Regions from separate parts of the Homo sapiens genome. Here all the other regions are linked to region 1. Evidence: promoter capture Hi-C in 16 types of primary human blood cells and fetal thymus (Javierre and others, 2016). All regions are on one chromosome and are shown on one strand. The core of a region is centred on a gene start or on the middle of the fragment in contact, and the rest is flanking DNA. Distances in the headings are between cores, read along the strand shown. Region 1 holds the start of HAX1 (HCLS1 associated protein X-1). Region 2 holds the start of MTX1 (metaxin 1). Region 3 holds the start of EFNA4 (ephrin A4). Region 4 holds the start of FLAD1 (flavin adenine dinucleotide synthetase 1). Region 5 holds the start of PYGO2 (pygopus family PHD finger 2). Region 6 holds the start of S100A16 (S100 calcium binding protein A16). Region 7 overlaps CHTOP (chromatin target of PRMT1).

Region 1 (3,660 bases), core at 822-3,321:
GCTATGGGCCCTGCACTTCCTTTGCTTCCTCCTGTTCACCCTGGTGGTGTACGGATGAGGCGGGGAGGTGGGACCCCCAAACATATATCAGCCCAACAGCCCTAAGTCTCCTTCTTTATTATTAGGAAAACAACAACAACAACAAACAAAAAAATGGCGTCATGAATATGAACAGCATTGTCAGATGAATTAGTTGAAGTGGTTTTTTTTTTGTTTTTTTTTTTTTTTTGTACTGTGTCCTCAAATTTAATGGATTAATGTGTCTTGTATATATAAAAAGAAAACCTCTACCTTCAGCCTCTGCCTATTCTTGCTCCGTCTAGGACATCCTCAATTTCGTCGATGACCAGCTTGGTGAATAAGTATTACTGTACCAACTGGGCCTCCTCTAGCAGGCCCCTGAAGGCAGTGGAATAAAATGAAATCTTCGCCCTTTAAGAACTCCTGACCTTAATGTGGTAGTAGTATCTTGTCCTTGAGGGGATTTCCTTCCCCTCACCCCTAAGACTTTCACAACCTGGTGACTGGAAAGAACCACCACAAATCTTCATTTCCTCCAGAAACTGCTACATCTACAGCCGATTTCAGGCAGTAAAGGGAGAGGGATAGAGGAGATTGGGTGGAAAATGGAGAGGATCAAGAAGGAGCTGAGACCATTTCAAAGAAAAAAAATGCTTTATAGAGTTTTAAGTATGACTTAGATGGGTCCAGGCAAATAAACTAAAAAGAAGTGAAGGCAACATGTATCGTCTGGCAGAACTAAATCTTGGAGTGGGGTGAGGGATGAAAGACTACATATTGGGTACAGTGTACACTGCTCGGGTGATGGGTGCGCTAAAGTCGCAGAAATCACTAAAGAACTCATCCATGTAACCAAACACCACCTGTACCCCAAAAACGAAATAAAAAAACAAAACCTTGGGGCCCATTCCCCCTAGGAATGGACTACTGTAGTAGTGGCTTCTTGGATGCTTCTCTGTGACATAGCTATACCCAATTCTTTGAAAAAGAATCTAGAGCAAGGTCTGGCTTGGGGATGGGGTACAGGGAGAGACAGGTCTCGGAGAGGTTTTGAACAAAACACTTTTAAAAAGGAATGAGGACAGGCGCTTTGGGAGGCTGGGTTGGGCGGATCACCTTAGGTCAGGAGTTCGAGACCAGCCTGGTCAACATGGTGAAACCCCGTTTCTACAAAAAATACAAAAGTAGCCGGGCGTGGAGGCGCATGACTGTAATCCCAGCTACTCGGGAGGCTGAGACAGGAGAGAACCTGGGAGGCGAAGGTTGCAGTGAGCCGACATGGTGCCACTGCACTCCAGCCTGGGAAACATGAGAGAAAACTCTGTCTCAAAAAAAAAAAAAAAAAAAAAAAAAAAAAGATACCAAAGGGATATTTCTTTATAACCCCCAATTTGTTCCTTCTCAGGACTCAACTAGCTTCCCTTCCCTTGCTTTCTTAAAAATCCTTTGTCTTGCTGGTTGCAGAGCCTGCTTAGAAAAAAGAATTCTATATAGTTATAACAAACTCCCTAGTAGCTAGAGAGGTGGAGGAAGTTAAGTCCATGCGTCTCTTATGTCTTGATCTCTTCTCTGGGAAATTCAATACTAGAAGGAGCTTGGAAAAGCATTTTGTTCATCCCTCTAACAGCAGACATCGCCCAGGTCAGTCAAAAAGAACGCCCGAGTAAGGAGCGAGGTGGCTTCTGCTGTGAGGCTGGCCAGCCCCGCGGGTGGGGTGGTTGAGGGACGCCCTCAAGCCGGTCCATTTGTGCGGCTGGGCTGCCCTCTGGCGGCTTTATCCGGGTGCCATCCAGAGTCAAACCCTCGAAATCGCTTTTCGTACTGAGTTGGTCTGCAGAAAGAAGAACAGATTTAGGAGGAAGGCGGTCATAGGAAACTGAAAGTGCGTCACGCCCACTCCCGTCACGGAAACTGGTCTCTGAAAGGTGGGGTAAAGATAAAGCCTTTCAAATTTGAGGAAGACCTTCGGTCCCGCCTCCATTTCACGTCCGGCTTACCGTCGTTTACGACAGTGTCAGGATCGCGGGCTTGCTTTCCGGTAGCGTGGGCTGACGCCTCGCTCAATTTCTCACAGGGCTGCGCAGGTTTCCCCCGTCTGCGAATGGACCACTGGAGGGGTTCAAAGGTTCGCGTCCCAGTACGGGAATGAGCCTCTTTGATCTCTTCCGGGGCTTTTTCGGCTTTCCTGGACCTCGGAGGTGAGAGTAGGTCCGGCTCGGACAAGGGTGGGGGTCGTCTGAGGGGAGCTTGACCCCTACGTCTTATTTTTGGAAAAACATCCTCTGTCCCACTCCTTCAACTCCTGCAGAGAGGACAGAAGTCGCAACATTGAACACTCACCCCGCCACAGTAACCAAGGCGGTCATTAAGAGGAGAAACAGCAAACTAAGCCTTTCTCCAACCTGGGGTGATGCAACAGGGACCCGGGCGGGGAAGACCGTGAGGGTCTGGGGAATAAGACAGTGAGCAAGTGAGCAGGACCTTGGGAGAGAGAGGAGGGACTGGGGCACACTGAAGAAAAACTGGGGGAAGGTGTATGAAGGGAGCTGCGAGCTGAGGTCTGACTTTGATTAAAAAAAAAAAAAAAAAAAAAGAACTGTCAGCCATTGTATTAATGTTTTGATGTGGCAGCCAGTCCTCCGACCCTCTCCCTAGCTTCCCAGACCCCTTGCTCTTGTCCCACTTTGCCACCCATGAGTTGATTTAATGGCTTAAATAGTGCTGAAATATTGGTGGCCAATCTGCCTCCACTCTCAGCCACAGAGATCCCTTTTTTGGAGGGATGACTCGAGATGAAGATGATGATGAGGAAGAAGAAGAAGAAGGGGGCTCATGGGGCCGTGGGAACCCAAGGTTCCATAGTCCTCAGCACCCCCCTGAGGAATTTGGCTTCGGCTTCAGCTTCAGCCCAGGAGGAGGGATACGTTTCCACGATAACTTCGGCTTTGATGACCTAGTACGAGATTTCAATAGCATCTTCAGCGATATGGGGGCCTGGACCTTGCCTTCCCATCCTCCTGGTGTGTGGCTTTCCCTAAGGGGCAACCTGTGGTTTCTGGTGGGTTGGTGGGTGAAATAAAGAGCCTGCAGGGAGTAGCTGGGGGATGGGAAGTGTGAGAAGACTGATGATTTCAGAGAGATTAATAGAGCCCAAGTCCTTTCCCATCCCAGCAAACACCTGCCACCTTTCTGCAGAACTTCCAGGTCCTGAGTCAGAGACACCTGGTGAGAGACTACGGGAGGGACAGACACTTCGGGACTCAATGCTTAAGTATCCAGATAGTCACCAGCCCAGGATCTTTGGGGGGGTCTTGGAGAGTGATGCAAGAAGTGAATCCCCCCAACCAGCACCAGACTGGGGCTCCCAGAGGCCATTTCATAGGGTGAGTATCCCATCTGGTCCTGAAGTGAGAGCTTGTGAGAGACCACTAATAAAGTGCAAAGACTGGCTAGGTGCGGTGGCTCACGCCTGTAATCCCAGCACTTTGGGAGGCCGAGGTGGGCAGATCACCAGAGGTCAGGAGTTGGAGACCAGCCTGGTCAACATGGTGAAACCCCGTGTCTACTAAAAATACAAAAAATTAGCCGGGCATGGTGGCAGGTGCCTGTAATGCCAGCTACTCAGGAGGCTGAGGCAGG
Region 2 (3,660 bases), core at 841-3,340, 940 kb after region 1:
AGGAGTTCGAGACCAGCCTGGCCAACACGGTGAAACCCCGTGTCTACTAAAAATACAAAAACAACAACAAAAAAGAAAAAAAAACCACCTAGCCGGGCGTGGTGGCGGGCACCTGTAATCCCAGCTACTCAGGAGGCTGAGGCAGGAGACTCGCTTGAACCTGAGAGGTGGAGGTTGCAGTGAGCCGAGATCGCGCCATTGCACTCCAGCCTGGGCAACAAGAGTGAAACTCCATCTCAAAAAGACAAAACGAAAACAAAAAAAAACCTCAACCCTTGTTGCTCTCAGAGGACAGAGGCACTGTGCCTTCCTTTCCCCATTATTGCCTATTACTACCTTCCAGGAACCTGCAGGTTTGAGACTCACTTGGAAACACAGAAACAGCACCCCACAAATTTGAGATGCCCCCACCAGGTGGCGCAAAGGAGATGCTGTGCTGATCCCCCACAGGAGTGGCACCTGGTGTCCACAACGTAGAAATGGAAGGCAGCTTCTCTTTCCACTCCTGGGTTTGGCTCGTTCCACACCCTAGTTCCCCTCCTCCCATCCTAGGGGCGCAGCACACTCGCTCTGGATAAGAACAGCTGCCCACTGAGGACTCTAACCCTCCCACCATCTGGGCTATCTCCCACGGGAATGTAGGACCCAGCTCCTCTGCCTCCTGTGTCCTGGCCAATCTGTGGTTTTCCCTCCAGCCAGTAAAGAATCTATGCCTGTGTCATCTGCTCCAGCTACCTCTCCCACATCCATCGGCCCATCCCACCACCAGACCTCCGGGAGAGCCCAGGCTTCTTGGTCCCCACCCCCGCCCTGTCCTTGGGCAGCCAGGAGCCCAGGGGGACGAAGCCCAGGGACCTACAGTACGCCCACCTTCAGGCTGCTCTCCCAGACCCTAGGGTGCCTACAGATGCTCAGGAACCACCCCAGCCAGGCAGCCTGAGCATCCAGTTCCTGAGTCCTCTGCCCTGGCCTCATGCCTGACCCTGTCCTGTTCCAGCTCCCCCACTACTCTCCGGTGCCCACTCCTCTCCACCAGGCCATAATTTCACCAACTCTAGGCAGTCTTAAGTTTTCCTCTGGCTCAATTTCTGGACTCTTCCCCTCTCCCCTTGCCCACATGTTCTCTGCTACTTGGGCTGAGGGCAAATGGGGAAGAAGCAGAGAGCGGTCTAAGAGGATGGAGACAGGCTTACCCTGCAGATCCTGACTGGCAGATGTGAAAAAGCAAAGGAGGAGAAGAGCCAGGGCCCCCCGAAGTTCCTGCGTCTCCATGCCTCTCAGCCGGCTCACTACCCCTGGCAGGCAGGCAGCTGGGAGGGGAAAAGGCTAGGCGGAGAGAGCAGGAGCCGGGGGGCGGAGGGACAGAATTGGAGGGGGGGCCAGCAGGCGGGTGAGGGGGGGCTGAAACAAAGAGCTGCCAATCACCCTGGAGGCATCATCAGCTCTGGGAACCAGGGGCACTGGGAAAGAATCCTGGAGGCCTCCCTGCTTTCTACCTCTCCCTAATGATCCTCCCCCAGGTGCCTCCCTCTCCGCAGTCATCATTGTTGGGGGTCTCGGCACACAGCGCTACCGAATGCCACTGTTTTCTGGAAGCCACGATTGTGGAAGGCAAGAACCCCTGGCAGGGGCAGTGCTAGACAGTGGGCATTATTCCACAGCTGGCAGGAAAGGATGCCAAGGGAGTGGCCGCAACTAGCTTGCTATAGTGCCCAGGGATGCCCACATGGCATGAATTTTGCTGTTCTGGCGGAGCAAGTGCTCTTTATTAGGGTGGGGGGTCCCCTGACAAGTGCCTGTTTCTCCATTTTCCCTCATTCGTAGGAAAGCTTGGGAGTCTGGAAGCGTCTGACGGGAACTGAAGGGAGAATCTAAAGCAGTGGTCAGTGAGGTCAGAGTGAAGAAACCAAAAAAGAGGAAAGGGACACCAGGGACAGGCGCAGAAGACCAGGGGTACAGGCGAGGAGCCAAGGACCAGACTGTGGAACACTGTGGGTACTAGCGGACGGGCCGTGACCCGGATGAAGCAGAGGGGCGCCTGAGTTCCCGTCACCTAAGCGACAGCCTGCGAGCCTCTCTTCCCCTCCCCCACCCAAGCCCCAGCCCGGCCTCCGCTCCGGCCGCCGCCACCGCCCCTGTTTTGTTTCCATGGCGACAGGCGGCGCAGGGCCCGCTCCAAACATAACGCGCTGTGGAAAACATGCTGCTCGGGGGACCCCCCCGCAGTCCCCGCTCGGGGACGAGCCCCAAGGGGCCCTGGAGCAGTACAGGCCACGTGCAGTTTGGCAAGAGCCCCCAGACCTGGCCCAGGCGCACAAGACCCCGCTCTCCAGAGCCTGCCGCGCCTTCAGGGGTTCGGGGCTCCACTTGGACGAGGCGCCGTGACTCTCCGAGGCGCGCCGGGCCGACAGCGCTGTCCCGCTACGTGGGCCACCTCTGGATGGGCCGGCGGCCGCCCTCCCCCGAGGCCCGCGGCCCAGTCCCCCGCAGTTCAGCTGCCAGTCGGGCCAGAAGAAGCCTCGCCTCCCCGGGGATCTCCCCAGGCCCCCTGACCGCAACGATCGGAGGGGCGGTGGCGGGGGGCGGGCCCAGGCAGGGGAGGGCAGAAGCACACAAGGAAGTGTTTCCGGGACAGAGGGTGGGCAAGATGGCGGCGCCCATGGAGCTGTTCTGCTGGTCAGGGGGCTGGGGGCTGCCGTCAGTGGACCTGGACAGCCTGGCCGTGCTGGTGAGGGGTGGCGCCGGCGCCCTCTGCTGTGCCCTGATGACTGGGGAGGGGGCCGAACTAGCCAAGCATCCAAACCTTGCCAGGGCTACTCAGCACGGGCGCAGTGGGGGAAACTGAGGCAGTCAAAGAGCGTACGTGGCCGATATGGCCTCAGTGCCCTATGCTGTAGTTTTCTAGGCTTAATGCAGCAATGAAAAGACGCCTGGTTGGGAGTTCAGGTGATGGGTTCTAGTCCTTGCTCATCCATTCACTGGCTGTGTGACCTTGCGGAGATCCTTTCTCTTTGGGCATTTTTTTTCTCCATTCGGAGGTTTACTAGGCTGGACTGTCTCAGGGACCTACTCTAGCTTGGAATTCCTGCCTTCTCCTCAGCCCCCTTCTCCTCTTCCTCCTCACTTAACAGCATTTACTGAGGCTATTGTTTGTTAGACCAAACGACTCACAGCCAGGCTTTGTATAAAGAGCTTAGCAATCAGACTTCCTTTGCTTCATTTATTCATTGACTCCTTGCTTTAAAGAGGATCTATTAGATTTCTTCCAAATATTAAACATTGCCAGGCAAAGATGAATAAAATTTGGTTCCTCCCTTCGAGTTTACAGAAAGGCAGATAGGTAAGCAAATAAATATAATAAAATATTCACATATAAGTTAAAGTAGGAACAGACCACAGATACTGCCAAAGAGAAGGGCATTATCAGTGCTTCCAAGAAGAGGGATACTGGTTAGGAAAAGCTTCTGAGGATAGATGTTCACCAGGTAGATGGCAAGAGAGGAGATAGAGGAAAGGATTTTCCTGGCTGTCCTGTAATCACAGACATGTCCGGAATCTCTCTGAGCCCTGTGTTGTCCATTTGTAAAATAGAAATGGTAGTGACTCCCCCTTTTTTTTCGAGACTAAGATACTAAGTATAGGGAATGGCACATAAGGTAT
Region 3 (3,660 bases), core at 1-2,500, 790 kb after region 1:
GCTCTACCTCTGACCTCTCCGGAGGTTCCGCTGCCTCCAAGCCGGACTTAGGGCTTCAAGAGGCGGGCGTGCCCTCTGGAGTCCCCTACCATGACTGAAGGCGCCAGAGACTGGCGGTGTCTTAAGACTCCGGGCACCGCCACGCGCTGTCAAGCAACACTCTGCGGACCTGCCGGCGTAGTTGCAGCGGGGGCTTGGGGAGGGGCTGGGGGTTGGACGGGATTGAGGAAGGTCCGCACAGCCTGTCTCTGCTCAGTTGCAATAAACGTGACATCTTGGGAGCGTTCCCCAGAGTTTGTCTGCTTCTAGAACCCGGGTCGCTCCTGCTGCGGTTCCAGGTTTGGCCGCCAGAAGACGCTGCCGCCTCAGACGAGGGCGGGCTGTGTGGGGCGGGAGTACCAGAAAGGGTCGGCGTGTGTCCCCGGGATGCTCGCAGCTTCCCTCTGCCCAGACTGGGGTGGCTTTCGGCGCAATCTGTCAAGCTGTTGGACCTGCCGTCCCCACTCTGACCATTGGCTGGGAAAAGTGGATCTGGCTGATGCTCCCAGAGCCCAGGAGCCAGGGCGGAGCGGGGCGGCGGCTGCTCCCACGATCCCAAGGCCGCGCACCTGCCTCCTCCCCCTCCGCCGCCGCCACCTGAGGGATCGGGAACAAAGGTGCTTTGTACAGGCCGCAACCACCTCATTACTTCGTCTTAGGGACTGGGGCCGCGTGGGCCCCCAGCCCGGAACGAAGGTGTGGAGCGGCAAGGGACAGACGCCAATCCTAAAGTGAGCATCTAGCGCGCCACCTAAGGCTCTTTAGGGAAGGTGGTCCCAGAGCTGTGTTGTCCCTTCCGCTTGCACTGTCCCTAGATGTGCAAAGAAAACGGGGCAGTGCATGAAGGTGGTTGGACAGGCTTCATGGATCCTCGCCCGCGCCTCACTTTCCCCTATCTGGGCAAAGGTTATGTACCCTTATTTAAAATCTTCCAAACTTCTAATAAGGCAGTCTACCCTGCACTAAAGCAGACACGAAAGAGATGACCTCCCTAAAAATACTGCTGTTGGAATACGTCCTTCCTTCCCGCCCCCTCGCAGTGCGGTGCAGCCTCAGTGGAAGCTTTGGCGAACCTGGCGCGCGCTGCGGTGCACAGAGGGTTAACTGGAGTTGGCGCTGGGTGGAGAGGAGGAGACGCGCTCCCATTGGCGGAAAGTTATTCAGGGGCGGGGTCAGTGAATCTCCGTACCCCACTCCCCTTTCCGCAACTTCCCTCTTCACTTTGTACCTTTCTCTCCTCGACTGTGAAGCGGGCCGGGACCTGCCAGGCCAGACCAAACCGGACCTCGGGGGCGATGCGGCTGCTGCCCCTGCTGCGGACTGTCCTCTGGGCCGCGTTCCTCGGCTCCCCTCTGCGCGGGGGCTCCAGCCTCCGCCACGTAGTCTACTGGAACTCCAGTAACCCCAGGTAGCCGGGCCGAACCGGGCGAGCGCACAGCCAAGTCTGCGCGCTCCCGGGCTTTGCGCGCGCCCGCCACCCGCTCTTTGCGCGGCGCCGCCTGAGCCTGGCCGCGCGCCGGGGCTCCTTTGTTTGAGCCGGCGGGGGAGGGGGGAGGGGCGAGGGGCGAGGCGCGCCCTGGGTCTCCCCACAGCCCGCATGTGTTGGGGGGCAGGCAGAAGACCCCAGCCCCAAGGGTTGTCTAGGGGGTCTTGGAGCATGGAGCTGGGGGGGCCTTTGCCCGCACTCCGGGCTCCGCCCCCCTCGCTGCTCTCCTGGCGATCCCCAGCCTCCCGCAGGCTGGAGCTGTGGCTGACGAACTTGAGAGCGAGGGAGGGGGCTTTACTCTTATGAAAGAGCGTGGGTTACTCTCCTGCCCGCTGGGTCTCACCTCTGGCTCTCACTCTGTCTCCTGATCTCATTTGCTATCTCTGCTTTCATCTCTGTCTTTATTGGTCCTTCTGTTTCTTTCCAGTGTCAGCCCTGCCCTTCTAGCCGAATCACCTCTGGGCAAGTCTCGTGACCTTCCTAACCTCATTTATCTCACCTGTATAATGGGCTAATAATACCTAGTACCCTGGGAAGTCTGGCAGGGTAAGTGAGGTCATGTATGTGAAAGAGGCTCAGGCTGTACAGATATAAACTATTATTTCTTTCTCTCTCCTGAGCTGCCTGCCTTTGAACCTTAGTATATTTTACTGTTTCCATCCCCCTCCCCAAGTCTCCCTGCCTCTCCTATTTCCTATCTGTTTTTCTTTCTGATTTTCTACTTGAGACAATCTGTGACTATTCATTTCTTCACTCACTAACATTTATTTATTAAACACATACTGTGTGTGCCCGGCCCTGTGCTAGGTTGCAGGGGATTAACTATATAGATGAGAAGATCAAGACCCTGCCCTCTGGGATTCCACAGACTCTCTGGAGAACAGGCGCAGGCAGGAGAGCCTGCATAAAGACAGGTCATTACAATACCAATAACAAGTGATAAGAGCTTTTGTTGTCCTTGGACTCTGAATTCTCTATCTCTGTCACAGACCAAAGCTTCTGAATCACTTGGAGGACCTGTTAAAAATTCAGGTTTCTCACCCCCCAATCTTAAGGTTTCTGGCTCATTCATTCAATCCACAAATATTTATTGAACACTGTCCTGTGCTGGGCACTTTTCCAGGCACGGGGGATGCAGTAGAACAAAACTTACCAAGGCCCTGTCCTTGCTCAGCTTGCGTTCTAGTAAGTCTGGGCTGGCTGAGCCCAGGAATCTTCATTTCTAATCAGAACTGATACAGGTCGTCCTTGGACCACCCACTGGAGGCTTTTCCTAAGTCATGCTTCGCTGTGTTTGTGGTATGGGGGGTGGTTCATGCAGCATTCAGTACTGTGGGGAGCAGCCCCTTCCAGCCCTTCCCACCTGTGCTGGCTTCCCCAGGCAGCTCCCAAGAGGTGGGGAAGGGAGTCCTGAGAAGACTGAAGACTGGGTAGTATGTGGACTCCCCCCATGCCTGGCACTTGCTCCTCCTGGCCAAAAAAGGGAGGCACCTAGCACCCACTCCCTCATTCTTTTTTTTTTTTTTTTTTTAATTTTTAGAATTTAGAGACAGGGTCTTGCTCTGTCACCCAGGCTGTAGTGCGGTGGCATAATAGCTCACTACAGGAACTTGCGGACTCTAAGGATCCTCCCGCCTCAGCCTCCCAAGTAGCTGGGACTACAGGAGTGCACCACCACTCATGGCCTTTATTTATTTATTTATTTATTTATTTATTTATTTATTTATTTATTTTTTGAGATGGAGTCTCGCTCTGTCTCCCAGGCTGGAGTGCAGTGGCGCAATCTCGGCTCACTGCAAGCTCCGCCTCCCGGGTTCACGCCATTCTCCTGCCTCAACCTCCCAAGTAGCTGGGACTACAGGTGCCCGCCACCACGCCCGGCTAGTTTTCTTTTTATATTCTTAGTAGAGACGGGGTTTCACCGTGTTAGCCAGGATGGTCTTGATCTCCTGACCTCATGATCCGCCCGCCTCAGCCTCCCAAAGTGCTGGGATTACAAGCGTGAGCCACCGCGCCCAGCCTATTTATTTATTTATGGTAGAGACAGTCTCACCATGTTGCCCAGGCTGGTCTTGAACTCCTGGCCTCAAGCGATCCTCCCACCTCGGCCTCCCAAAGTGCTGGGATTCAGATGT
Region 4 (3,660 bases), core at 457-2,956, 710 kb after region 1:
ATGTGTATCTTACAGGGTATTTTTTTTCTTTTTGATGGAGCCTCGTTCTGTCGCCCAGGCTGGAGTGCAGTGACACAATCTCGGCTCACTGCAAGCTGCGCCTCCCGGGTTCACGCCATTCTCCTGCCTCAGCCTCCTGAGTAGCTGGGACTACAGGCTCCCGCCACCACGCCCGGCTAATTTTTTGTGTTTTTAGTAGAGACGGGGTTTCTCCATGTTGATCAGGCTGGTCTCCAGCTCCTGACCTCAGGTGATCCGCCCGCCTCGGCCTCCCAAAGTGCTGGGATTACAGGCGTGAGTCACCGCGCCCGGCCTTTTTTTCTTTTTTTCAATTGAGAGAACTCAAGCAATCCTCCCTCCTCAGACTCCCAAAGTGCTGCGCCCGACCAAGGGTTTTGAAGAGTAAAATTTGGCAAGGTGTGGTTTACCAGTCCTACAAAGAATGAATTCGGCCCGGCGCGGTGGCTCACGCCTGTAATCACAGCACTTTGGGAGGCCGAGGCGGGCGGATCACGAGGTCAGGAGATCGAGACCATGCTGGCTAACACAGTGAAACCCCGTCTCTACTAAAAAAAAAATGAAAATAAAAAAATTTTTAAAAAAAAGCCGGGCATGGTGGCGGGCGCCTGTAGTCCCAGCTACTCGGGAGGCTGAGGCAGGAGAATGGCGTGAACCCGGGAGGCGGAGCTTGCAGTGAGCCGAGATCGCGCCACTGCACTCCAGCCTGGGTGACAGAGGGAGACTCCGTCTCAAAAAAACAAAGAATGAATTCGGGCCCTTACCATTCAAAATGTAGTCCATAGAGCAGTGGGATCACCATCACATGGGAACTAGCTAAATGCAGATCTCAGGCCCCACCCAAACCTACTGAATCAATCTGCATATGAAAAGATCCCCAGATTATTGTTGGAAAAAAGTTTAAGATGTACTTTTAGAACAAAGGCAACTGAAATGGGGGTAAGCTCGGATGATGTGAGGATCCAGAGTAAACATGTAAGGCACTCCCTATTCGCTGCCTCATTTGCACCTACAAGACCAATTACTGGGAAAGGTCATTTGAACTAAGCACCATCTGGAGCAAGGTGGAGGAAGAGAGGGTTTTTGGACTCTTTCTTGTCAAAGAGATTTAAGTAATTCGTTTTGTCTACTATACTAGAGATAAATTAAGGTTCCACACATCAAAAGCTCACCTACTCCAGGGTCTTCATATCCGACAGACAGTGGTAATAATCTTTCTCGGTGTCCCTCCAACTTCCTTCTGCTATAAATAAGATGCTTTCTCACTCCAGTAAAAGCCCTTAGCCTAGTGTTAGAGTCACGGTGAATGAAAACAGCTTAAACCATGGCTAACTGACCCATTAAACAAAACAAAACAAAGCAACACATGCATAACAATTATTTGAATCCAGCACCAGAAACTCCCCGAGGGCCTTACAGCACCTTTAACTACGGCTCCTTTCCCGCCCTAAACTCCCGAGGTCCCGCCCCCGACCGTGGGCTAAGGTCCGGCCCCCGTATTTCCGGGCGAGAAGTGACCACGTGGTTGTCGCCTATAACAATCCGGCCCTGCTCCCATCCACTGGCTAAAGCCTGAGAGCGACAGTTGAATACACCAATGGGACCCTGGAAGAGTCTAAGCGACAGCCAAAATCACCATTCAATGTCAGCTAGGTGCAAGGCGGGACTTTAAGTACGGAAGCTGCCCCGGGACATGAGGAAAGGAACAAGGGAAAGAGCCGGTGAAGGGGCAGAACAGGCAGGTGAGAGTCTAAGAGGGCTCAGTAATCTGAAGCTTGGTGGGAAGAAGGGATTCTGGGCTAGAAAGGGTGCAGAAGCCTGAAGTAGAAAGAGACGGGATTTTGGTCCGGGGTGGAGAGCGAATGCATTGAAAAGGGCCAAGGCCCAGGATAAGGTAGACATTTAAAGGGGTACGGATGCCCAAGGTAGAGCAGACACTTGAGGAGACCAGCTCAGCAAACGGAAGACACTTAAAGTGGTAGGTTCTCAAGAGAGAAGAAGTTTTTAAGACTAGAGCTAAGCAAGACATTTAAAAGGACATGGGTTGGGATTTGGGAACACGTTTATTCCAGAGGCAGGAACAAAGGAGTCGCTTGTCAAGGATCTGGTTAGAGAAGACTAGGGTCTTCCTCGAAGGAAGCACGCGCACGCCTGCTCTCCCCCATTGTCTTTTCTGGCTTCTCCAGGTTCCCTCGACCCAGGACCCCCTGTTCCCAGGCTATGGCCCCCAGTGCCCTGTAGACCTGGCAGGCCCCCCGTGCTTGCGACCCCTATTTGGGGGTCTGGGTGGCTACTGGAGGGCCTTGCAGAGGGGCAGAGAAGGCAGGACCATGACATCTAGGGCCTCTGAACTTTCTCCGGGGCGCAGCGTGACGGCTGGCATCATCATTGTTGGAGATGAGATCCTTAAGGTGTGTCTGGGACAGAAAAGGGGGGAGGGCGCTGCGTTCTCCTGTCCTTAAGGGCCTGCTGCACATCCCTCCATGGAAGGAGGTGAAACAGGGTGGGAGCCTCTTTGCTGCAGTAGGATCCTGGAGTGAATCCAGCATATTGGAGGAAAATTAACCCTCATTCTTTCAATTACTCTACTGAAAAACTTGTAGCAAAGTCCCTACAATTTTTCAACCTGAGAGAGCTGATTGAAAAAAAGAAAAATAAAAAGGTCATTGCAATTTACCAAGCAGTATGGTAGAGGGCAGAGGAGCTACACAACAATGACAGGAAGCCCCTCGAGTAGAGGAGGTACAGGTGTGTGTATTGTATATTTAAGAGTTTTGGCCGGGTGCGGTGGCTCACGCATGTAATCCCAGCACTTTGGGAGGCCGAGGCGGGTGGATCACGAGTTCAGGAGTTCGAGACCAGCCTCAACATGGAGAAACCCCATCTCTACTAAAAATACAAAATTAGCCAGGCGTGGTGGTGCATGCCTGTAATCCCAGCTACTTGGCAGGCTGAGGCAGGAGAATTGCTTGAACGTGGGAGGCGGAGGTTGCAGTGAGCTGAGATCGTGCCATTGCACTCCAGCCTGGGCAACAAGAGCGAAACTCCGTCTCAAAAAAAAAAAAAAAAAAAAGAGTTTTACCCAGCCTTTTTGGAAATGACTCAAGGTACTCAGCGTAGTGGATAAGTGAGCTAGAAGGAAGGTACTAGAAGGGATGAATCCCCTCCGAATGATCAGGAAAGTCTTACTAGAGGACATAACAGATGACACGGGTTTTTTTGTTTTTGAGACAAGATTTTGCTCTGTCACCTAGGCTGGAGTGCAGTGGCACAGTCACAGCTCACTGAAGCCTCCATCTTCCAGGCTCAAGCAGTCCTCCTGCCTCAGCATCTGGAGTTGCTGTGACTACAGGTGTTAGCCGCCACACCTGGCTAATTTTTTTTTTTTTTTTTTTTTTTTTTTTTTTTTCAGAAACGGTCTCACTATGTTGCCCAGGCTGGTCTCAAACTCCTGGGCTCAAGCAATCCTCCCACACCTTGCTGGGATTATAGGCATGAACCACTGAGCTTGGCCAAATGTCAAGTTTTAATAATAATCTTTTTTAATATTCTTTGTAAATTTGTGTTTTTTTTGTTTTTTTTGTTTTTTTTTTTTAGATAGTCTCACTCTGTTGCCCAGGCTGGAGTGCATTGGTGGGATCT
Region 5 (3,660 bases), core at 648-3,147, 690 kb after region 1:
GAAACACAGAGCTAAACCAAGAGAGCACTACCAACACAATACACATTTTGGAGGCTGATACTGTGGGCAGCTCAGGTCTAAAATCAATATGGACCACAGGCCAGGTGCGGTGGCTCACGCCTGTAATCCCAGCACTTTGGGAGGCCAAGGCGGGCAGATCACGAGGTCAGGAGATCGAGATCATCCTGGCTAACACGGTGAAACCCCGTCTCTACTAAAAATACAAAAAAATTAGCCGGGCGTGGTGGTGGGCGCCTGTAGTCCCAGCTACTCGGGAGGCTGAAGCAGGAGAATGGCGTGAACCCAGGAGGCGGAGCTTGCAGTGAGCCAAGACCATACCACTGCACTCCAGCCTGGGCAACAGAGCAAGACTCCGTCTCAAAAAAAAAAAAAAAAAAATGGACCACAGGCCAGGCACAGTGGGTCACACCTGTAATGCTAACATTTTGGGAAGCCGAGGCAGGAGGATCCCTTGAGCCCATGAGTTTGAGTAGTAACACAGCAAGTCTCTGTTACTACAAAAAAAAAAAAAGAAAAGAAAAGAAAAGAAAAAAGAAAAAAAAAAAGACAAGAAAAAGAGGGTGGAGAGTGGAACCAACATAGTGCAGTAACTATGTTTTAAAAACAGGCAGAACTAGGATGGAATCCCAGCTCTGACCCTGAAAAACAACCTCAAGACTGTGGAGCATGTATTTAACATTTTTAACCCCCAGATTTCTCATCTGTAAAATAGGGATAATGCCTATCTCCCCAAACTGTTAAAGCATGTTAGCGCAATCCCTGGCACTAAAAAAAGGATCAGTAAGTGGTAGGTGTTACGTTATCATCAGGAGGAAACCAGGACAGGAAACATGGAGGAGACTGGAACCCTGCGTGGTAAGAACTTTGGTCGAATCATCTCTTAGGAGAGGATACTTTCCCCTAAACTTGTTATAAGGTTCAGCGAAAGAACAAGAAGCAAAGCAAGAAAGACAGTTTTCTCTCTCCTCCCTGCAGCTGATACAAGATACAAACAGATACTGGAATGGCAGAGTAGACAGTGTGCCGCCAAGGGGCTGCTGGGAACCAAACCCACCACCAACCACCATTCACCTGAGTATTTGACTTCCTTCGCTTCTTTTCTGGACTCTTCATTTGCAGACCTGGAAGAGCGGCAAAAGGAAGACGCAGACAAGTTTCCCTGAGGTTTCCCCAACCTCTTTTCTCTCAGCCATGCTCTGAGGAACTCCTTTAACGTCAATACATACTTGCTTATTTATTCAACAAATGCTAACAAGGGGTGCAATATGAAAAATAGATTGTGAAGATGATCATACTCTCAGCTACGTCTTCCTTTAAATGAAAGATATCCCATCTTTCGATATCCTCAAGCTCCAAGTGAGTACTGAATTCCATGTGGCTCCAAACCCTAGAGTCCTCAATGTGTGACACCTGCCCCCAACCCCTGGAGGATTACACCCACCCATCCTTTTCACCTGAGCCTCCCTTCAAGCCTTCAGACTGTGAAACACCCCCCGCCCACCATCCCTCCCCTCTGAGGTTCCCAAGTCCTGGGCCTCTTCAGCCCCCGCCCCTCGCAGCGCGCTCACCGGCCTTGCCCTGCTTCCTCCCGGTGCTGGGCGGCGCAGGGGGCGGTGCGGGGCCGCCACCTCCCTCCAGCTTGTCCGGTGGGGGCGGCGCCGAGGCGGCCATGGAGTGGGGGACCCGGGTTAGCGGCAGCGGCGGGGGATGGAGGCGCCCTTGGGCTGCACCATCGCCCAGAAGGGGTGTCAGGGGCAGCCCAGGCCCCCGAGCTGCAGCAACCACAAAGTGCGACGACAGGGAAGCGCCGAGCCGCCGCGCAAACTGCGCGCTCTCTCCAGACTCGCCGCCCGCCAGCGGCGGCAGCAACCGGAACCGGAACTCGTCGCGGCCACCACCACTGAGCGCTGCGGGGAGGGGGAGCAAGGACCGGACGAGACGCTACGCCTGAAAACAGGCGGCGGGCGAGGGACGAGGCTTACCACGGCACCACGCGAGTGGAAAGGGTCGTCTCCGCTAGCGGCGGCCCACACCAGCTCACCGAGGGGCGGCAGCGCGCGGCCCGGCTGCCGGACCGTACCATCCCGGGCGGTGGAGCCGCCGCGGAGGGGCGCGCGCGAGCCGAAGGCGCACCCGGGAGGCCCAGGTAGCCCGGGGGCCGGTGCTGGGGCGCCGGGCAGGCCCGGCTCCCGCCTCGACCCACCCGGAGCCAGCCCCCTCTGCGGACACGACATCCCCATGGGGACGGTGGCGCGAAACGCCCCACTCTGCCGCACCCAAACTCTGCAGACCCCCAGCTTCCCTGGGCGGCCGCGACCTCCCGCCTCCCCGTCTGCCGCTGAGGGCCCGCGGCGTACACAATAGGCTTCCCAGAAGGGTTAAGAGGCAGAGGTAGAAGAAATACGGACTTTAATGAAGAGTTTTCCCTTTGGTATAAGTGAGACCCGTGGAAACATCCAAACAGCAAAAGGAGGCCAGGATGAAAACGGTCAACTCTCCCTTATCCACAAGGCCAAAAGAGGGGGGGCCGGCTTGCTGTGGTGTGGCCACCCCGGGCCTAGGCTGGGCCGGGCCTGTAGAAGGTACTCAGGAACTGCAGGTTTTGCGTTTCCCCTCCATGAAACTGACAGGCATTCGGGCTGACTTCTGCCTCTCAGTCTCGCGGTAAGAGACCCAAGTTTTTCTAGTCCTAGATGGAAATAAATTTCATCTGCCTCAGGTCTCTGGTATAAAAGGTGCGATCCCAGTTACCTCACAGGCCTAGGCGAGGAAAATGCCAAGAGCTGTAAAAGGGCTTGGAAAAGTCAAAAAGGTGATGTATAAATGTAATAATTGATTATCATTTTGTGCTCAAGAATAAGCAATGGAAAAGAAAATAGGAAAGTAAGTCTACAGCCCTAAAATATATGCATATAAAACTTTAAAAGAATGCAGTTCCAACTCTACAGATGGTATGTGGGGATTGTCTACTGCTTTATAGTCTCAATGCCCCTTTTCTCACCTCCACAAAATCCACCTGGGAGAGTTAACTGTACAAGAGGCCCAAATTCAGTCACCCCCACCCCGCCCTCCCAGAAAGGGAGGCAGGGCAGAGGCTTCAGGAGGAAGGGCTGCACTTTGGCGTAGAGTACATAGGCATGCAACATGGGAGGGCAGGCCTTATGAAATGTATATACAGACCCCTTGGGGTGAGGGGCCCCGGCCAGGAGGCACTGAGCAAGGGAGGGGTCCATCTCCCGCCTGGCCGGGAGTGGGGCTCTGGGGCAATCTCTAAGGGTTGCATATCCCCAGGGAGAGGGGACAGCTGCCACTCCTGCCTCTGTTATCCCAACCCAAACCGGAGAGGGTGCTCAGCAAGAACACAGGTCCCAGAAGCCAAGAAGGTGTTGGCATCCCTGTCATTGAATTCAGGGGTCCAAGAACTGTTTGCATAAAATATCATTAGACCTAAGAGATGGTCAAAGGCACAAAGTTTAAACATGGGGGGGGCGGGTGTTGAGAGGGGTCTGGGATACCCTGAAGCCCAGAGGTGTGATTTGTTCCCCCTTGCCCAGAAGGGTGACTGTTCCACTGGGCCTGTCACCACAGGACATTTTCCATGACAAGCACTCACCTTCTTGGGGAAGGGGCATCAGGTTG
Region 6 (3,660 bases), core at 834-3,333, 660 kb before region 1:
CACCTCAGGCCTCCAGCCCTACCCCAATGTTCTCATTGTCTTCCCCTTGGCTGATTCATCATTGAGCAACAAGCAGTCTCCCACCCCCACCCCACCCACCTCAGCCCAGCTTGCTGACTTCTCCAAAAGCCCAAATTGCCCTGACTCCATGCCCCTGGATCCCAGCCACTCCAGCCCCACCCTCCCACCCCCAGGTTCTGGGCTCCACGCCCTCCAAATGCCTCCTAACCACCCCTAGCATCCCCAGGCTCCTTCCGTCTGGAGCTCCAAACATCCACCACACCGTCCTAAGTCCACCTTCTCTTCTCACCCCACAGACACCTCTGGAGTCTTAAGTTTTTTCCAAGTGTTGGGATGTGTCCCTAGACTCCTGTCCCTCCTGGTCACTGTTCTCTCCAGAGCCTAGCCCACTGTCAAGCCTAAGTATGGATTCTCTGTGTCCCTTCCATCTACCTGGAATTCATTTGCTCACTTAGGCACCATGAGTTTGCTTACTCATTCATTTATTGGCTCATTCATTCACTCTCATTCATTCACTTGCTCATTCAATAATGCATTCACTCTCTTGCACATTCATTCATTCATTCCCTTTTTCATTTACTCATTTGTCCTCTCTAACTTCAATATATAGGGAAGGTGCCATCCGAACTGGGCTGACAATGCCACCTCTATCAGCAAGGCTGTTTCAAATGAAATTTCTCCAGCCTCAGCTGTTCCATTCTCTGCTCCTTCCTGTGTTCTTTCTCCAATTCCACAAGGCCCTCTCCAGGAACAGCTCCCGGAGCATAGTGGGGCCTGCTTGGCCCTGCCTCACCCCTTACCATCCTCACAGGATTCTGCGTCTAACTCTCTTTGTCTCTCTCTCACACACACACACACACACACACACACACACACACCGAGCAAGGACCTCGGCCATTCCTGATCCCCTCTGCTTGGGTGACCCATCACCCTTCCACTCACTTCAGTTCTTGGAGCAAGAAGCCAGCCTCTGAAATTTTTCCAGGCAAGTGAAGTTGGAGGAGTTCAGTGTGGATCTTGCCCCCGCCTCCCCCAACACACACACAGCTACCCCAGCCTCAACAACACTTACTAGAATGTGGGGAAAGGCAGAGCCAGCTCCCCAGCACCCCTGCCCTCACCACCATCCCCACTGGGCTGGGCAGGGGAAGGCTCCCATAGTGCAGGTGGCTCTGCCAAGAAAAGCAGCTCAAGCCGGGGCCTGCCTGGGTCCTGAGGTGGAGGAGCTGCCGAGGTTCAGCCCCCCTCTCTCTATCTTTCCCTCTCCCAGGGAGCTTGCAGGCTCCCCACAGCCTCACTCGGGTTCCTCCCAGATCTCATCATCCCTCTCAAGGAACAGCTCCTGGAACACAGTGGGGTCTGCTTGGGTCGTGAGGTAGAGGGGACGCCACCTCAGCCCCCGCCTCCTCTTCTCGGAATCTCAGGCTCCCTGGAAACTGCCTGGTTCCTTCTGGACCCCATCACCTCCCCTAGGACACAGCTCCCAGAGCCCAGCAAGGCCTGTGTCCAAGCTCTGACCACCCCCAACCCAGACCAACACGCATTTGTCCTCTCCTTTTGGGGAGGATCGAGTAGCTGTGGTCAAAGCTTCCAAATACTCTGCCCCTGGAGAGGAGCTCCGTCAGCTGCTGCGGCAGGGAGGGGGTCTCACCATCCCATCCATCCCTCTAAAGGCCTCACCCAGCCCCCAACCCCCCAGGACTCCCCATTCCTAAACTGGCCTGTGGGAGAAAGTTAATAATTACCAAAATCTTCCTGCCTGCTCTCTGGCAGGCCCCTCTCCCCAGGCCCCCTTCACTGCCCCTTCTCCTGGCCTCCCAATACTGTGGGGCCCTCCGGCAGCCGAAGACCTCCCAGGCCGGGCCCAGGGTGCTCACCTGCTGCCTCAGTCTGCCTCCTCTCCAGCAGGGCTCTGGGGCCTGGGCTCTGGCACTGCCAAGCAGCTCCCTGCGCTCAGCCCAGCCGGGACTCCTCCCCGCTGCACTCCCAGAATCTGTCCCACTCCCTCCCAGCCCTGCCCGCTGAGCTGGCTCGGTGGGGAGATAGTGGCTGAGCTCCTTCTTGACTTGGCCCTGGGGTTGGGCCCTTGTTAAAGGGATACACACCTTTTTTCACACCCCTCTACCCCCATCCCAGAGGGAGTGGTGAAAACTGGCACTCCCCCAACCCCACCCTCCCAGCCCCGCAGGGGCTGAGCAGAACCTGACAGGGTAGAGAAAGGAAGGGAAGGACTATCACCTGCCTTTCTCACCTGGGTCACTGGGATCCCAGTTTCAGGGGCTCCCAACAGACAAGTTCAGTTAACATTCCAGGCCAGCCTAACTGGCCACAGAAACCTCCTTGCCACTGGGGTTTCAGGAGTAACGCCCGACTTCTGTGCTCAAATCAGAAGGCAGATGCCAGGGACCTGTCTGGCTCCCTGGTCTTCTGTCTCTAGTCTGACCCATCAGCTCTACTGAGACCCAGCCCTAAGATCCCTCATGTACACCAGAAGACTCCTCTGGAAACTCCCCACACCCCACCGTTTCCCTAAGATACCCAAGGAAACTGGCCAGCTCGACCTCCCTACACTAGGGCAGCAGCTGAAACCAAAGAGGGGCCCACTTGCCCACTCCAGCGGGAATGATATTGGGTCACTGGGCACTCACCATGTGTCAGGCTCTCTGTAAGTGCTTTACATGATGTGTGGCATTGTCCTCCTGGCAATCCTGTGGAAGTAATATTCATATCCCCCATTTTACAGATGAGGAAACTGATACTAAGAGCATGCCCAAAATTCCAATGATAAGTGGCAGATCTGAGATTCAAACTCAGGCCAGTCAGCCTGTTTCTAACCGCCCCCCACCCCCACCCACCCCATTTCCCTGGTTGTGCCAGCCAGGGCTCAGAACACCTGGACTAATATCCTTTTCCCCAAGTGTGCACACATACCCTCCTCTCCTATAAGAGGGCCCGCCCATTGGCAAAGAGGAGCCTGTCCCTCAGAGAGGACCATGTTGCCCTTTTGGACCTGGTACCACCCTCAACCCAAACCCATAGGGAAAAGTGAGTCCCCATTCACTTCCACAGCCAACCACTCCAGCCCCACGTGCCCCACCCTACCAATGACTTTGCCTTTCACCCCCAAGCTCCTCTCACCCGTGGACCCTCAGGGAGGGGGTGTCCAGTCAAGACAACATGTTTCACTTTTTTCATTTTTTTTTATTAATCAAATGATACAAAACAACCATCATTCTGTCAATGCCCAAGCACCCAGCTGGTCCTCTCCCCACATGTCACACTCTCCTCAGCCTCTCCCCCAACCCTGCTCTCCCTCCTCCCCTGCCCTAGCCCAGGGACAGAGTCTAGGAGGAGCCTGGGGCAGAGCTGGAGGCAGGAAGAGAGCACTGGACAGACAGCTATGGTTTGGATTGGGGAAGAGATTAGGAAGTAGGTTCTTAAAGACCCTTTTTTAGTACCAGATATCCAGCCATATTCCCAGCTCCATTATTCAAATCATTTCCCATAGCCCAGCTCCTCTCTGTTCTCCCCCTACTACCAATTCTTTGGCTCTTACACAATTTTTATCCCTCAAATATTCATCCCTGGCCCAACCAGTCCCCTGAGCCTCCCTCTGGTGGAGACTCCTCCACCCATGAG
Region 7 (3,660 bases), core at 375-2,874, 630 kb before region 1:
GAGCCGTAGCTCCCCGAATGGGCTTAAGAAGAGGTGGTGTTCGAGGTCGTGGAGGTCCTGGGAGAGGGGGCCTAGGGCGTGGAGCTATGGGTCGTGGCGGAATCGGTGGTAGAGGTTAGTCAGCTACCAACTTCAGAGAGTAGCTCCCCCTTACTTTCCTCCCTTAAAAACTCAGAGCCACCTTTCTGCACAGCTTCAAGTCATAGGCAGGCTTCTTTGTTTGTCTTGTTTTGTTATTTGAAACTGGCTTATTTTTCAAATTACCATGCTGGTAGTGCAAAAGTCTCATGATTTTTCCAAGAATCAATCAAGTGCATATTATAGAGCCAGATTATATGCCATCTTCCTCCAAGCTCTTGCAAATTTAAATTGTATAGTTGAAAATACCCCCCAAAATGGTCAGTTTAGGGTTTTGCCTTTCTCTGCCCCTGTCCCACCACCATCACCACCACATACCACCCTGTAGCTCCAAATCCTGGTTTGAGTCACATGAGAATATAGAAGAGAGAGAGAGATACAAAGATGAAGTAGAGTTAAGAGGGTGGTGAGACTTGGAGCTGGGCATTGGCTCTGAAACCAAATAAATTCAATGTCACATTTGGTGCCTGTGGAGAACCAGAGATGACTTTTTTTGCTTAAGGTAGAGAGCAAGATGGAATTATTATCAGTTAACTAACTGGCTCTTATTGATAATCTTGCCTTTGAAATTTATTGATGTTTGTCTTGTGACCTCATGACCCAGATTGGGAAAGAGTTTAATGATGTTGCTGCTGTTAATACTAAATCTCATGGGAGCCTTCTGGTTTAGAGCTTAGTGGAAAACTCCCAACACCTGTCCAGAAAAAAAACACTATTGAAGCCCCTGTGTATATTTGCTTTGGTTCTCTTAAAAGGTGTCTTGGGTCTTCCATAACTTATGACCTTGAAGTTGCCAAGGAATAATAACTGTTAGGAAAGAAAAGTTGATAACCAAGGGCTTGTTTTCTTCTCTCCCATTATATGATACTTACTGAGTGAAGTGCAAGCTAGTTTGGGTTTCAGGATGAAATAACATGTTTCCAAATTATCTTGACTTGGATCCTGAGAGACATCACGAGGGTGGGAGAGACTAAAATAGCTTTTCAAAAAGCTGAGTTTGTTTTGTTAACTGAATTCACACTGCTTCTCAGATAACCACAATTGTCAGTTGTCATAAGGTAACTAGAATTAAAGGTAGAAATAGCTAGGACAACTCAAAATATTTTTTCAAATCTCCCCTACATTGTTCCTGTGTCAGAAAAACTCAGTCTCCTGACACATGAGGTCAGCTAGCTCATTAGACTTGATAAGTTTAAGGACAGGTGAGATGACTTTCCAGAAGGGTCTCCAATAAACTTAATTTGAAAACTGTCTTGTCTTCACACCCCTGATGCTCTGTGCTCTTGTTACCACCTCCCTATCTTACCAAATGGGGTTATCTGTCATGTATTTTAATTATGAACTTAGTGAATCTCAAATGTTAGGTAATTTTATCTTAGGATTGATTAAGGTTTTTTAAAATTATAGTTGCCAGTTAATTATTTTCCTTTATTGATAGAATAAAATTTGTTAAAATAGCATTTAGAGATGATCATGTGATAGAGGATTCATTATGTGTGCTTTCCATGTGTTGCTTTCTACCCATTGTGTTTCCTTTTTTTCCAGATTTCTCCTCTTTGCCCTGCCCTTCAGCTTTTCTCAGCTAGGCCCCACTGCTCTAAGGGGCATTTACTACAGCACCTATTAAACTTACTTGTAACTGTCTCTTTTTTTTTTTTTTTCCCCTTTGGGCCAGGTCGGGGTATGATAGGTCGGGGAAGAGGGGGCTTTGGAGGCCGAGGCCGAGGCCGTGGACGAGGGAGAGGTGCCCTTGCTCGCCCTGTATTGACCAAGGAGCAGCTGGACAACCAATTGGATGCATATATGTCGAAAACAAAAGGACACCTGGATGCTGAGTTGGATGCCTACATGGCGCAGACAGATCCCGAAACCAATGATTGAAGCCTGCCCATCCTCCCATGAGAGACTCTTGTTAGTCAACACATCTGTAAATAACCTTGAGATAACAGATGAGAAGAAATCTGATTGATGCTGGATGGACCTATCACAATAGGCTGTGGACTTACTTGCCACCAGCTTGTGCATTTAGTGTGTTCCTTTTACTTTTTGATACTGTGTTGTATGAAACCCTTTTGTCCTTTGATTTGGTTTTTTGTTTTTGTTTTTTTAGGGGGGAGGGGGGGTTTCCCCTCCTTTGCCCAGACTTCTCTTTGAACACAAATGCATTAGCCTTGTGGCTAGAACACCCTCTTCCTACCTCTGTCTCCCCTCACTTGTCATATGCTCTGACATGCTAACATTTCTTTTGTTCATCCCTGTTGCCCCCACAGAAACATCCCAGAAAAACCGGTCAGTGTTCCTTCCTCCCTGATCCTTAGGTTTCTGAAATAGGGTTCTGTTACATCCTCTTCGATAGCCTGTTTAAAATGTTTAGAAGGTCTGGAGCTCAAAAATGCGTTCTTCCACATTGATAATTTAGTAAACTGAGAACATTGACATCACTACAGGGCAGCATAAGAGGTTGCTTACATGTGGTAGCAGCTCTGGTTTGATTCAAGTTGCTACCATGTACATTGACAGCACATATACCATAACCAGCGTGTTGGGTTGAATTGCACTTTCTACCTTTGTATGAGATTTACAGACTTTCCTTCTGGGTTTGTATCATGACCAGAGGGGTACTATAGGGTTGGTTTATACTGCAATATAGAGGATCAGAAGCCATTTGATTTGGTAGGTGTGTCAGAAGGGAGAATGATGGCAGACGAACTGCTGGAAGAGGTCAGAAGATAGCCATGCTAAAATGCAATTATATCCTCATGTTTATCCCAAACTAATCTTGGACTTTTCCACTCATTAGCTTTGTTTTGCCCTTGTTTCCCTTGAAGGTTTAAGTTCAACCATATTCTGTCAACTGTTCAGTTTCAGTGGAATCTTGTATTTCTGGTTCATTATAACAAACTGTTCGCTTAAATCCACCCAGGACTCTCTTTATTTGAGGTGCCTCAAAATGCCATGGCTACTTTAATGATGTTTTTTTTTTTTTTTCTTGTGACCGAGTCTCGCTCCTGTCACCAGGCTGGAGTGCAGTGGCGCGATCTTGGCTCTGCAACCTCCAACTCTCTGGTTCAAGCGATTCTCCTGCCTCAGCCTCCCGGGTGGCTGTGACTACAGACATGTGCCACCACACCCAGCTAATTTTTGTATTTTTAGTAGAGATGGGGTTTCACCATGTTGGCCAGGATGGTCTTGATCTCTTGACTTGGTGATCCACCCGCTTCAGCCTCCCAAAATGCAGGGATTACAGGCGTGACCCACTTTCAGCCTCCCAAAGTGCAGGGATTACAGGCGTGACCCACTGCACCCAGCCACTTTAATGATGTCTTGATATACCCCTTGTATGGTTGAGAGTTTCTTTCTTCTTACTTGTGTTAAAATTCTGGAGAGCCTGTGGCTTTGAGCAGAAAGTGAAGAATTTGACTTCCTCTGAGCTCTGCAGAAATAACACCACGCCCACAAAAACTCAAGGAAGATTGTCTTGGGCAACATTCTGGGCCCTTGGGCCCTGGCACATATTTCCCT

Evidence for each region. Contacts are between HindIII fragments. The CHiCAGO score rates a contact against its expected background, and 5 or more counts as called.
Region 2: a contact is called between the fragment with the promoter of MTX1 here and the fragment with the promoter of HAX1 in region 1, in 2 of 17 cell types (activated CD4 T cells and non-activated CD4 T cells). The highest score is 7.1, in activated CD4 T cells.
Region 3: a contact is called between the fragment with the promoter of EFNA4 here and the fragment with the promoter of HAX1 in region 1, in 2 of 17 cell types (neutrophils and non-activated CD4 T cells). The highest score is 9.1, in neutrophils.
Region 4: a contact is called between the fragment with the promoter of FLAD1 here and the fragment with the promoter of HAX1 in region 1, in 5 of 17 cell types (non-activated CD4 T cells, naive CD8 T cells, total CD4 T cells and 2 more). The highest score is 8.6, in non-activated CD4 T cells.
Region 5: a contact is called between the fragment with the promoter of PYGO2 here and the fragment with the promoter of HAX1 in region 1, in 5 of 17 cell types (neutrophils, non-activated CD4 T cells, activated CD4 T cells and 2 more). The highest score is 13.8, in neutrophils.
Region 6: a contact is called between the fragment with the promoter of S100A16 here and the fragment with the promoter of HAX1 in region 1, in 6 of 17 cell types (naive B cells, total B cells, neutrophils and 3 more). The highest score is 16.9, in naive B cells.
Region 7: a fragment that was not itself captured here is called in contact with the fragment with the promoter of HAX1 in region 1 in 2 of 17 cell types (total B cells and neutrophils); the score reaches 7.0 in total B cells.

What each region holds. Positions count from the first base shown.
Region 1 is chr1:154,270,558-154,274,217 of GRCh38, forward strand. HAX1 (HCLS1 associated protein X-1) reads left to right here and starts at 2,072. Exons shown (of 7, transcript NM_006118.4): 1 at 2,072-2,219; 2 at 2,779-3,041; 3 at 3,217-3,404. The coding sequence starts at 2,167. It overlaps UBAP2L (ubiquitin associated protein 2 like), which reads left to right. Exons shown (of 27, transcript NM_014847.4): 27 at 1-290. RefSeq lists a silencer at 1,688-1,828 and an enhancer at 1,966-2,135. The HindIII fragment of the contact is 9,202 bases long and covers 1-3,660 here.
Region 2 is chr1:155,206,605-155,210,264 of GRCh38, forward strand. MTX1 (metaxin 1) reads left to right here and starts at 2,091. Exons shown (of 8, transcript NM_002455.5): 1 at 2,091-2,728. The coding sequence starts at 2,201. THBS3 (thrombospondin 3) reads right to left here and starts at 1,293. Exons shown (of 23, transcript NM_007112.5): 1 at 1,194-1,293. The coding sequence starts at 1,272. RefSeq lists an enhancer at 294-1,077 and a silencer at 2,441-2,640. The HindIII fragment of the contact is 1,632 bases long and covers 1,828-3,459 here.
Region 3 is chr1:155,062,490-155,066,149 of GRCh38, forward strand. It overlaps EFNA4 (ephrin A4), which reads left to right and starts at 1,251. Exons shown (of 4, transcript NM_005227.3): 1 at 1,251-1,447. The coding sequence starts at 1,335. ADAM15 (ADAM metallopeptidase domain 15) reads left to right here. Exons shown (of 23, transcript NM_207197.3): 23 at 1-286. The coding sequence ends at 13. EFNA4-EFNA3 (EFNA4-EFNA3 readthrough) reads left to right here and starts at 1,251. Exons shown (of 5, transcript NM_001407761.1): 1 at 1,251-1,447. The coding sequence starts at 1,335. DCST1-AS1 (DCST1 antisense RNA 1) reads right to left here and starts at 1,502. Exons shown (of 4, transcript NR_040773.1): 1 at 1,268-1,502. It also overlaps ADAM15-EFNA4. RefSeq lists silencers at 652-741, 1,122-1,271, 1,562-1,711 and an enhancer at 2,202-2,703. The HindIII fragment of the contact is 1,420 bases long and covers 1,100-2,519 here.
Region 4 is chr1:154,981,638-154,985,297 of GRCh38, forward strand. FLAD1 (flavin adenine dinucleotide synthetase 1) reads left to right here and starts at 1,707. Exons shown (of 7, transcript NM_025207.5): 1 at 1,707-2,429. The coding sequence starts at 2,058. RefSeq lists enhancers at 1-359, 960-1,557 and a silencer at 1,440-1,619. The HindIII fragment of the contact is 2,398 bases long and covers 1-1,790 here.
Region 5 is chr1:154,959,885-154,963,544 of GRCh38, forward strand. It overlaps PYGO2 (pygopus family PHD finger 2), which reads right to left and starts at 1,898. Exons shown (of 3, transcript NM_138300.4): 1 at 1,590-1,898; 2 at 1,093-1,142. The coding sequence starts at 1,692. It overlaps SHC1 (SHC adaptor protein 1), which reads right to left. Exons shown (of 12, transcript NM_001130040.2): 12 at 2,414-3,660. It overlaps PYGO2-AS1 (PYGO2 and SHC1 antisense RNA 1), which reads left to right and starts at 1,654. Exons shown (of 1, transcript NR_171036.1): 1 at 1,654-2,739. RefSeq lists silencers at 1,444-1,903, 1,954-2,363 and enhancers at 1,505-2,245, 2,246-2,985. The HindIII fragment of the contact is 6,114 bases long and covers 1-3,660 here.
Region 6 is chr1:153,611,054-153,614,713 of GRCh38, forward strand. S100A16 (S100 calcium binding protein A16) reads right to left here and starts at 2,084. Exons shown (of 3, transcript NM_080388.3): 1 at 1,899-2,084. S100A14 (S100 calcium binding protein A14) reads right to left here. Exons shown (of 4, transcript NM_020672.3): 4 at 3,202-3,660. The HindIII fragment of the contact is 6,157 bases long and covers 1,607-3,660 here.
Region 7 is chr1:153,643,251-153,646,910 of GRCh38, forward strand. CHTOP (chromatin target of PRMT1) reads left to right here. Exons shown (of 6, transcript NM_015607.4): 5 at 1-114; 6 at 1,814-3,056. The coding sequence ends at 2,019. Among named protein-coding and RNA genes, the nearest start is that of CHTOP, 11 kb to the left of the region's middle. The HindIII fragment of the contact is 7,820 bases long and covers 1-3,660 here.